Regions from separate parts of the Homo sapiens genome. Here region 1 is linked to region 2. Evidence: promoter capture Hi-C in 16 types of primary human blood cells and fetal thymus (Javierre and others, 2016). All regions are on one chromosome and are shown on one strand. Each heading gives the region's core, a stretch centred on a gene start or on the middle of the fragment in contact. The rest is flanking DNA. Distances are from core to core; before and after follow the strand shown.

The links. Contacts are between HindIII fragments. The CHiCAGO score rates a contact against its expected background, and 5 or more counts as called.
Region 1: a fragment that was not itself captured here is called in contact with the fragment with the promoter of ZMPSTE24 in region 2 in 4 of 17 cell types (naive B cells, megakaryocytes, naive CD4 T cells and 1 more); the score reaches 6.7 in naive B cells.

What each region holds. Positions count from the first base shown.
Region 1 is chr1:40,207,273-40,213,178 of GRCh38, forward strand. All of the region lies in intron 5 of RLF (RLF zinc finger), which reads left to right. Among named protein-coding and RNA genes, the nearest start is that of TMCO2, 38 kb to the right of the region's middle. The HindIII fragment of the contact is 168 bases long and covers 3,589-3,756 here.
Region 2 is chr1:40,255,414-40,261,302 of GRCh38, forward strand. It overlaps ZMPSTE24 (zinc metallopeptidase STE24), which reads left to right and starts at 2,823. Exons shown (of 10, transcript NM_005857.5): 1 at 2,823-2,981; 2 at 5,426-5,572. The coding sequence starts at 2,859. RefSeq lists enhancers at 2,054-2,183, 2,414-2,683, 2,764-3,043, 3,134-3,233. The HindIII fragment of the contact is 15,848 bases long and covers 703-5,889 here.

The DNA.
Region 1 (5,906 bases), core at 2,423-4,922, 47 kb before region 2:
TATTACCTGAGTTATGACCAGAATGTCAAAGCTGGAACATTCCACTCATGCTTTCTAAGTTTTTAAACTTTGCTTGGAGGTCTTTTTGAATTTTAAAATTGTGATTTTATATTTCTCTCTCTCAGCTTTATTTTATTTTGAAATATAGTTATGCTATCTGTATATTTATAAAAATAAGAACCAAGATGAAACCAAGTACAGTGTTGTGATTCAGATTTCTGTATAGGTTGATTGCATCCTGGATCAGTGCTTGGGTCAATAGTTATTTCAAATGGCTAAGACCCCCTGCTATGGCCCAGATCATATCTCCCACTGTGAGAATCTTTTATCAGATTTTTTTGTTGAAAATTGTTTTTTTTGGAGACAGAGTCTCTGTCGCCCAGCCTGGAGTGCAGTGGCGTGATCTCGGCTCACTGCAGCCTCCACCTCCTGAGTTCAAGCAGTTTTCCTGCCTCAACCACCTGAGTAGCTGGGATTGCAGACGTGCGCCACTACACCTAGCTCATTTTTGTATTTTTAGTAGAGACAGGGTTTTGCCACGTTGCCCAGGCTGGTCTCCAACTCCTGACCTCAAGCAATCTGCCTGACTCAGCCTCCCAAAGTGCTGGGATTATAGGCGTAAGCCACCACGCCTGGCCCCTTGTTGAAATTTAAGATGTACTTATATCTAAGATACTTCCCAGTGGCCAAAATACTGACTCCAGGAATTTGTGATTCTGTCCTGGCTCCTAGTAGTCTTTGCATTTCTATCAACTAACGTATTTTTTCAAGTGCTCACAGACTTTATTCTGGGATGGATATTGGGTTAGCAACATTCCACTTGGAAGCACTGTGGCCTGGTCTTTGAGATTTAGTAGTAACTTGAATCTGAGAGGATTGTCTAGGCAGGGAAAGTATAGATAGAGACAGAATGCTAGTCATCTTTGTTTTGGGGAATGACCTTACACAGGAGCACAGATACGGGATGCAGAGATGAAACAGCCAGTTGGTGGCTATGAAGTGGACAACATGTAGTTTCCTCAAATGGGGATTGAAGCTATGACCTAGGGCCTCATTAATAAATGTTCTTATTTGTTAGACTTTCTGGTGATAAAGAAATCAAAGGATAAAATGCTTTGCACTGCCTGTCTTTTCAGACTTTCTACTTGAATCTTAAATATAACTGCAGAAAACATTTATTGCTCACTTGTCTATTCCAAGCACTGTGCTGTGTGCTTTAAATGTGTCGGTATCTAATCCTTATAAAAATCTATTAATTTAGGCCAGGTGTGGTGGCTCATGACTGTAATCCCAGCACTTTGGGATGCTGAGGAGGGAAGATTGCTTGAGGCCAAGAGTTCAAGACCAGCCTGGGCAACATGGTGAAACCCCATCTCTACAAAAAAAAATGCAGAACTTAGCTGGGCGTGGTGGCATGTGCCGTAGTCCCAGCTACTCGGGAGGCTGAGGTGGGAGGATTGCTTGAGCTCTGGAGGTGCAGGTTGCAGTGAGCTGAGATCACACCACTGCACTGCAGCCTAGATGACAGAGTAAGACCCTGTCTCAAAAACAAAAAAACTTTGAATTTTATAGAAATTAACTGAGGCTCTGAGAGATGATATTACTGGCGCATAGTAGTAAGATGTCCAGTAAGTGGTGTGCCCAGGGTTTAAATCCAAGGTGATCTGCCTCTGCTTTGCTTTTATACATATTAATCTGACACTCACACATCTCATGTACATGATCCAACTCACTGTCACTGCCAACCTTCTGGTTCTTTCTGGATTCTGGTTCTTAAAGTAGACTTGTTGTGCAGGCAAGTTTTTATTTCTTTTGTTTACCCAGAGGGGAAACTTCAGAAAAGATGGGAGGGGACTTTGAAGTTCTGAGGCTTGTGGGTGGCTCATTACTGGACTGGATTTACTGAGGAGCTTAGGTAGAGTATGTTTTTCACAAGACATCTAGAGAAGTGAAAGCAACAATCAAAATATGTAGGCTTGAATCTTGACATTGTCATTTACTAGCCATACAGCCTTGGCCAGGTAGCTTTATTTTCCTTATCTATAAAGTAGGCACAACAGTAGTAGCCGTCTCACAAAATGGCTGGATAGTTTAAATGTGATAATATCTAAAGCACTTAACACAGTTCTTGGCATATTTTAGACACCTTACAAACATAGACCCTAGTATAAGAATTCTTTAAGCCTGGGGTGCAGAACTAGGGAGGATCCGTCGAAGTCAAGATTGATCAGAGGTGAAACCTGAATTTGCACAGAGAAACAATGTGGTATACACAGAGATAGCCTCCTATGACTTCATCTACATTTTTAAAAGCAGTCATATGGGCTGGACAGAGTGGCTCATGCCTGTAATCCCAACACTTTGGGAGGCCGAGGCGGGCAGATCATGAGATCAGGAGTTCAAGACCAGCCTGGCTAACATGGTGAAACCTTGTCTCTACTAAAGATACAAAAAATTAGTCAGGTGTGGTGGTGTGCGCCTGTAATCCCATCTACTCAGGAGGCTGAGGCAAGAGAATCACTTGAACCCAGGAGGCAGAGGTTGCAGTAAGCCAGGATCGTGCCATTTGCACTCGAGCTGGGGCGACAGGGCGAGACTCCGTCTTAAAAAAAAAAAAAAAAGGCGATCATAAGAGACCAACTATAAACCTGTATGCTAATTTATTTATTTGCAGTATCAGGTAGTGTAAGGAGATAGATTGCTTACCTCTAATAGCAGCTGCAGTATTTTATGTTTGGGAAAGTTAATCAGACTGAGATGTAGTAATGGTTATTCTCAGCACCTGACACATGCCAAAACAATTCAAAAGCAGCAGCAAAACACTACATTTTGGGTTTGATTCCTCATCCTGTAATAATAACAACTTTACTCTCTCAGCCTTTGCTTAATTAAAACCCGTTTTGTTTCTAATGTTGTATTAGGCATTGGCAAATACAGCAAACTGTATGGCCCAGTTTGTTTGCCAAAAATAGTTACAGAAAGAGAAGTACTAAGCTCAATGATTACTGCCCTAAATTCAGTAGAAGTGTAAAGATAGAGAATTCTGTGTTTATAGAAAAATTGATCCTTGAATTGGAGCTTTAAGTAATGGTGGGGTTTGGATGGGTGGAAAGAATGGTTTGGAGATGACTGAATGGTAGTAAAGCACAGGTACTAATGAGTACTTTGCAGGGATCCACTGGAGAATAAATACCCTGCTTAGGGCAGAGTGGTTATTGAAGTCTTGTGAGAAATAAGACCTGTTGGGGTTGGAAAAGAAGGGCTTGGAAACTCCATTGCATTAATGGTTAGATTTGATGCAGTAGAAATTAAGAAGGCTTTGCAGTTAGGAAGTGACATGTCTGAAGTGGTGTTTTAGGAAGACTAGACAGAAAGAATATGTATTATGTTTAGGACAAGAGATTGTAGCCAGCAAGAGGACAAAGGACAGGACTTGCTGACCGGGCAAAAACAGAGGAGGATGTACAGAGATACCTTCAAGAGGCTCATAAGGCTTCTAGCTTGGGAGACTGGAAGAATAGTGGTGCTCTGCTGCTAATTAGAAGAAAGAATGGGTGGAGGGACAAGGGAGAGTCTGGGAAGATGATAAGCTTTGTTTTATACATGATCTTTCCTGGTTTATTAATAACAATGTTTGGAAACAGGATTTTTCCTGATTGTGTTGAGTTTGCAGGGAACTGTGTTATAGGAAATACGATTTGATACTATTCACAACAGGGGGTTGGCACCCACCCAGCTACCTGTTTTTATAAATAAAGCTTTACTGGCACAAAGTCTTACATTCATTTCTTGTCTGTGGCTGCTTTTGTGCTACAGTGGCAGAGGTGAGTAGTTGTAACAGAAACTCTCTGGCCAGAAAAGCTAAAAATATTTTCTGTCTGTCCTTGTACGAAAAATATTTGCTAACCTCTGCTCTACAAGAATTAAATTTTCCAGTCTATTTCAGTGGTTTAATATCGGTTGGTCTAACCCTCCGTGTTCTACACGTGATGAAACTGAAGCCAAGCTGATAATGTTTCCAAGGCCCTTCCTGCATTAAGCTAATTAGAAAGGCCAAGCCCAGCTGGAATGCAGGTCACCTGGCTCCTTGGTCAGCCTTCTTTCCACTCTACCACCTATTTCCATGTGTTAGACATTGATAAGCCATGGTCTGATTGGGAACATCTTGGTGATATATCATTCTGTTCATATTTATACATATAGGTGTGATTTAAAACATTTTTATCATGATGTGGATTAATTTGTTAAATATACCAATGCAAAACATTTAGTACACATAAAGTTATCTTAAAATTATTTTAAAGGAACCCTAGTATCATCGTATCATCATAACTAGTCAGTCTTTTTTTTTCCTTTCTTTTTCTTTGAGATGGTGTTTCACTCTTGTTGCCCAAGCTGGAGTGCAATGGCGTGATATCGGCTCACTGCAACCTCTGCCTCTCGGGTTCAAGTGATTCTCCTGCTTCAGCCTCCCGAGTAGCTGGGATTACGGGCACGTGCCACCACGCCTGGCTAATTTTTGTATTTTTAGTAGAAACGGGGTTTCACCGTTTCTACTGGTGACCAGCTGGTCTCAAACTCCTGACCTCCTGTTATCCGCCCGCCTCGGCCTCCCAAAGTGCTGGGATTACAAGGCATGAGCCATCACGCCCAGCCACTAGTCAGTCTCTTATCCTAGTGATACTTTTCTTTTGCAAGTGTCAACAGAATTAAAAATAATCTGTAGTTTGCTTTGGAAAATTACTAGTGAGTCACCAGATGTTGATTAATTAGAGTTTAAATTCAGCATACGTTCTAAAGTAGCAGAGTTACACACATATTTGCCATCTACTTCACCTGAGTTCAGGAGAAGAGTTAACTTGAGCAACAGCTGGGAATAAAAGTACATTGTATGTTGGTACCTGGGGGTATCCCAATAATAGGCATATGTAATGGGAAACCGCTGCTGGGGAAGATTTAGCCAGACACATACAATTAAGATTAATTGACTGGGTCATCTGAAAGTCAAAATTCAGAACCTAGTGGGTAAAGAGTGAGTCCTTTCAGATATCTGGTAGGTCTGGAAGGCAGAAGAATTTCATGGAATCCTGGAGTTTTAGGTTGTGATACTTTATTTATGTAGAATTGAATGAGATGACATTGCTATTAACTTTACATATTAAAGGATTTTAATAAAAGTTATAGACTTGGCAGTGGCTCAGTGTCCCAAGTGGATGTTTCCTATATTTTTTCATTACTGAAAGGGGAAGTCTTTGCAAAGATCAGGTTTTCAACATAGAAAAGATAACATTTTAAACATCAAGCACTTCTATTTTAAAGAGCTCAAGAAATCTGTCAGCAGAGTTCTTGGCGCAGTTAAGGCAGGGGTCCGTTTCATTCTTAATCCCTGAATGAACTACATCTTCGGTATCTGACGTGGTTGATAGACACAATAGCAGATGGTTGTTTCTTTTCCTGATGGGGAAAGGAAAGGACAAACAGGATCCAATTTACTTACCAGCCTAACACTGTTGGGAATTGACACAGTCACTAGGTATAAATGATAGAGCAGATACCTTTAAACAGGACCCAGTGGGAATTCAGTTTGGGAGTAGAAGAAAAAGTAAACAGGAGTATAGAAATTCCAGATGTAGTTTAAGTAAGAATCAAGATTAAGATGAACTCTGAACAAGGAATAATTACAAAAGGTTTAATTAAGTTTAAAATATGCCACCTCCACCACCTTCTTTTATGCTAATTGGCTGCCTGTTAGACCATTGGTGTTTAATTGCCTGATTATTTTGAAAGTCTTAATACTTCTACTTTATCCTTGTGATCATACAAGGAATGAGATAATACACTCAGAATACACTAATGACAGAAAGTCTGTGTAAAGAAATTGAGGATTTGCTTGTTTAGGTATTTTA
Region 2 (5,889 bases), core at 1,573-4,072:
ATTGGCCAATCTCAGGGCCTTTGCACTTGCTCTTCACTCTGACTGGCAATTTCCTCAGATATCCACACAGCTTGTTCTCTTACTTTTTTTGGGGGACTCAAATGCCAGTTAATCTGAGAAGGCTTCCTTGACCAACTTATGTAAAGCAGCATCCCTCACACCAACATGCTGTATTGCCTTTTTGCTGCTTTTTCTTCATAGCACTTATCACCACTTCCACTTTTACTATTAAATATTTGCTTATTATTTATCAAACACTGCATCCACCCCAGCTAAGAATGTAAGCTCCAGGAGAGGGGCTTTGGTTCACTGCTATATCCCTGGCACCTGGAAATGCGTCTGGCATTTCGCAGACATTCAGTATTTATTGAATGAATGAATTCCAGTCAGTCTTGGCTTTTTGACACCTCGGCCTCCTACTCTCCTATCTCTTCAGACACATGGTGACAGATCAATGCTATGATGCCCCTCTCCCAAGCAGTAGCTAACCTTTATTGGGCACTCAGGGCCATCTACATTGCTAGGAGCTTTACATGAATTTTCTCATTTGATCCTAACAGTATGAGAAAGTAAGTACATACTATGTTATTCTCATTTTACTGATGAGGATCTGATGCACAGATTAAAGAACGTGCTAATACATGGTGCGGCCGTGGCTGGCAATCAAGCAGCTTGACTCTAAACCTGTGCCCTTAGCCACAAAGCTTGGGTGGTAGAAGCTCCTGTGAGGCTTTGGACTCACAGACAGCTGAAGTCAAGAGTGAAGAGGGCATAGCAATGATGGCCTGAGGGAGAGAAAATTTTGAAAAAGTGTTTACCCCTTATATATTTAAGTTGGTATCTAACTGGTTCCATCATAAATTCAAATAGTTGCAATGGATGTAAATTCTTGCAAATTGTAAATACTGACATTTTAAGATAAAACTGTTAAATCACTCTTTATAATGTATCCAAGAGAATCTACATAACAACTGAATAACCACCATTATGCATTAAAACATACACTAATGAGCTCTTCAACATTGTTCTTTTATTATCTCTAACATATTTAGATTGTACTCTAACAAAAAATGTTATTCAAATATAGTACTTTGATGTTTGAACAACCTTTTCTTGATCACTTCTTCGCAATAAAAATATGACATATGTAGTAAACCTTAAAAAATTTCGTGTAACTTTATGGCTCTACGCTGGAATTCTTCTGAAGTGAGTAATCATCACAATCATCTTTAGTATATAATGGATCAAAATGACACGATTGCAAATATTGATAACACACAGTTATAAAAGGTGAAATTCTATTGGGAACACATCTCTTAGTGAGATAGATGGGGCTGACCCACCAATTAATTCATTTATCTGGATGAATAGTTCCTACTGGTAGATTAACAGGGTTCATTTTCAATTCTGTTGTTTTCACAGATACAAGTGCTGAGAAATGGTTTTACATAAATAGGTGAGAATGCTAGTAGTTTTGTTGTAAGCATGTCAATCAATCGTTTGGTTTCTTTCCGAGTTGCATGCCAAAAACCAAATAGTGTTCCTTCATCAGCTGACAATTCATGGGCCACCATTAATTTTGTTGAAAGCAAAGAACTGGAAACCATCTGACTTGAAAAGAATTTGTTATCCTGTTATTAGAGTCATTCACTTTCTCTAGTGACTTTTAATTATACTAATTACTCTCAGAGGCATTTAGGCAGGGTTGAGAAATTCAAGATATTAATTTCAACACATCTTTAGCATCACAATATCACAGTAATTTAAATATATTTTAGTTGTAGCTATTTAGCTCACTTTATTGTAAATAATAATTATGCTAATTAGCAACGATAGTATGTTTAACCAATTAATCATCAGATTAACTTTCGGTCAGAATAATGGACTTCAATTTTTAAGTCAAAGCAATGTACAGGCGTCCCAGTCACCATATTTCACTTCTGAATTCCAAGAGAGAAATGGCGTTGCGCCTTACTGACGCAAATATGTACCTAGATAAAGTAAGACGCTTTCATTTCAGGTATGTCTAACCCACGCTATCCTTGCTTTGTTCCAGGGCACTCTCGCAGGGAAAACGCCGCCTCTGACTACACTTGGGGTGGTTAAGACGAGATCTTCAAATGAAAATTCTCAACGCTACCGTCCACTCTCTCATACGCTTGAATTCCGAACACCCCAATACTGGCCAAAAGACTCCATTTCTCATGCTTGGTCTTGCTTTTGAGGTAGCTCTAACTCAGAGGCACGATTTTTAGAGCCTGGGAAGTCGGCTGCTGTTCAGTCCTTCCTAGCCTCCTCAGGCGGGAGCCGCGGCCCACTCAGTCAGTTGCGGCCCACTCAGTCAGTTCCGGCCCCAGCCCCGACTACCTGTCGCCTTGTTGGGGGAAGGAAGGCAGATACCGCAGCCCAGTCAGGGTAAGCCGCTGACCCAGAGGATGGAACTGCGGCTCTGGAGATTAGAAAGAGGAGGACTTCGCCGCGTTCACTAGCCCAGGAGGAAAGCCAGAACCCTAGGCCGGAACCCAGCGTCAAGACGTGGGGGAAGAATGTTGATGCAACACAGCTCAGCCGGGCCCGGAACTCGGCGTTTGGGTCCCCGCCCTCTTTGGGCCGGAAGTGAGGAAGGTGGGGCTGGGGCTTTTCCTGTAGAAACTAGGAGGGACTAGGGAGAGTCTGCAAGGGGAAGAGTGTGTCTGTGACACTGCCAGCAGCGCGCAGAGGGAGGGATGGGGGCGGGTATCGGCGTAGGGGCCCTCGGAAAGAACGGATATTGCTGTGACACCGCGGGGACGCTCTGAAGGGACGAGTGTCGGTGTGGCACCGGTGCACGCTGAAGGAGCCGGCGGAACCGGGTGGCCATGGGGATGTGGGCATCGCTGGACGCTTTGTGGGAGATGCCGGCCGAGAAGCGTATCTTCGGGGCCGTGCTGCTCTTTTCCTGGACAGTGTATCTTTGGGAGACCTTCCTAGCACAGCGGCAGGTGAGCCTAGACAGGGTCCAACCTGACCCCCATACCCGGCCAGCCCTGGAGTAGCCTTGGCTTCGACCCTGAGACTCTTGATTGCTTCGGTCCCCGCGCCAGTCTCGTCTTTGTGGTCCCTGCTGAGTCTCGTAACTTGGCCCGATGGCGGACTGTGGCTTTGAGGAGGGTCTTGGTGCGTCAAGGAAGTTTTCTGTAACGTTATCATGGGACCCAATCCCTTTAGGGCCTGGAGGAAGGCTTGGGCTCTTGTGCCCTCCCTGCAGCTTCCTTGGGATCCTTGGGCCCAGACTTGGCCTCCTTTATCTTTGGAATAAGCCTTTAAAAGGATTTAGACACCCAACTTCCTCATGACATTTATGTAATCATGCCTAACCATAGGATTTTGCAGTCCTTCCAAGAACTTGCACTCTTGTTTCTCCTTAAAGTGCATATATTGTTTCTGCTTGAAAAAACAAACAAACAAACAAAAAACTTATCGGGCCCGGCGTGGTGTCTCATGCCTGTAATCCCAGCACTTTGGGAGGCCGAGGCGGGCGGATCACCTGGGGTCAGGAGTTCGAGACCAGCCTGACCAACGTGGCGAAAACCCGTCTCTACTAAAAATAGAAAAATTAGCCGGGTGTGGTGGCGCGCACCTGTAGTCCCAGCTACTTGGGAGGCTGAGGCAGGAGAATCATTTGAACCCAGTAGGCGGAGGTTGCAGTGAGCTGAGATTGTGCCACTGCACTCCAGCCTGGGCGACAAGAGTGAAACTCAATCTCAAAATAAATAAATAAATGAAATTAAATGAAATATATTTCTCGTTTTTCATAAAATCAACATTATTTTAGTTTAAATATTAAAATGGTAAAATAAAAAGTGAAAGTTAACAATTTACCTGAGATAACCATGGTTTAGAGATCTGAACTTTTATTTATTTATTTTTAATCTTTATTTATTTATTTAATTTTAGAGTCTAGCTCTGTCACCAGGCTGGAGTACAGTGGCGTTATCTCGGCTCACTGCAAGAAACTAGGAGGGACGAGGGAGAGTCTGCAAGGGGAAGAGTGTGTCTGTGACACTGCCAGCAGCGCGCAGAGGGAGGGATGTTCAAATGATTCTCCTGCCTCAGCATCCCGAGTAGCTAGGATTACAGGCACGTGCCACCACGCCCAGCTAATTTTAGTATTTTTAGTAGAGACGGGGTTTCACCATCTTGGCCAGGATAGAATATTTATTGTATTTAGAGACAGGGGCTCACTCTGCCACCCAGACTGGAGCACAGTAGCATCATCATAGCTCAAGGCAGCCTCGAACTCGTGGGCTCAAACGACCCCTCCACCTCCACCTCAGCCTTCTGAGTTGCTAGGACCACAGGTGCGGATCACTGTGCCTGGCTAATTGTTTGATTTTTTTGTAGAGATGTTGCCCGGGGTGGTCTGGAGTTCCTGGACTCAAGTCATCTTGCCGCCTCCACCTCCCAAAGGGCTGGGATTACAGGCATGAGCCACCGTGCTCGATCTCCCCTCAGCTTTTATTGGCACACAACAATATATAGGGAAAGCATGTTGTAGTGGCCCATTATTTTGTTTGGTATCCATTCTCTGTATTACATTTCCTGGACTGAAATTACCCTTACCTTTTATAATTTAGTATAATGAGATAGTTGATCTTTCTCCTTTTTTTTTTTTTTTTTTTTTTTTAAGGAGATAGATTCTCTGTCACCCAGGGTGTAGTGCTGTGGCACAATATGGGCTTACTGCAACCTCTGCCTCCCAGGCTCAAGTGATCCTCCCACCTCAGCCCCCCAAATAGCTGGGACCACAGGTGCATACCACCACACTCTGCTAATTTTTGTATTTTTTGTAGAGACGGGATTTCACCACATTGCTCAGGCCAGTCTTGAACTCCTGGGCTCAAGGAATCCTTCTGCCCCTGTCTTCCAAACTGCTGGGATTACAGGCGTGACCCACCGTGCCCGGCTGAAAATTGGTCTTTTCTCACAGACCTGATATGTTTCCATCTGGTGATCCTCAAGTTTCTGGCATTTAGGACCAAATTTAATGAGCAGCCTCAGTATCTGTTCATACTCACAGTTAGCATGTGTGCTTCTCCTTTGCATGAATTTGTTTTCCGTATTATAGGAGGTATGTAATACCCAGAATGAGTAGTACATGTAACAAAGTTGTGATGTTAACAGCTTTGGTTTACATATACAAACTGAAGTGTGATGACAACCCTGATTATAGTTTTACCAGTCAGGTCACCTCAGGTTCTCTTGTTCTGCTTTTATTTTCCTGCATCAGTCGTTTCATGTACTTGATCAAGTGCAATATTTGTGTAGGTATAAAGCAAATTCAACAGATATAAGTGGCAAGCTATAAACCATTCGATGTTTGATCATAAATGACTATTGTAATAAACAACTATTTCACTAAAGTGTTTTCTTTAAAATATTTCAGAGAAGGATATATAAAACAACAACTCATGTACCACCGGAGTTAGGACAGATCATGGATTCTGAAACATTTGAGAAATCTCGACTCTATCAACTGGATAAAAGCACTTTCAGCTTCTGGTCAGGACTCTATTCAGAGACTGAAGGCACTGTGAGTAATTTACTTCTTGGAGAGACAGTCTGTCTGGTTGTTTTCATTTTCATATTTTTGTAACACAAAAGAGGGTACCACACTTACAAGTCCCAGAATGCTTTCTTAACCTTTGTTATTGATAGTAACGGCTGTGGAGCAAAAAAGACAGAAACATAACTGCTTAGTCAGTTGAAAACTATAGAATATGGGAACTATTACCCTGAAGCCAGGTAGGAAAAAGATCCTCTTCCATTAGGATCCAGCTGAGATGTCATGTCTTCTAAGCAACCATTTGAAACTCCCTGCCTGACGAATGTGGATAGGGTAGCATTCTA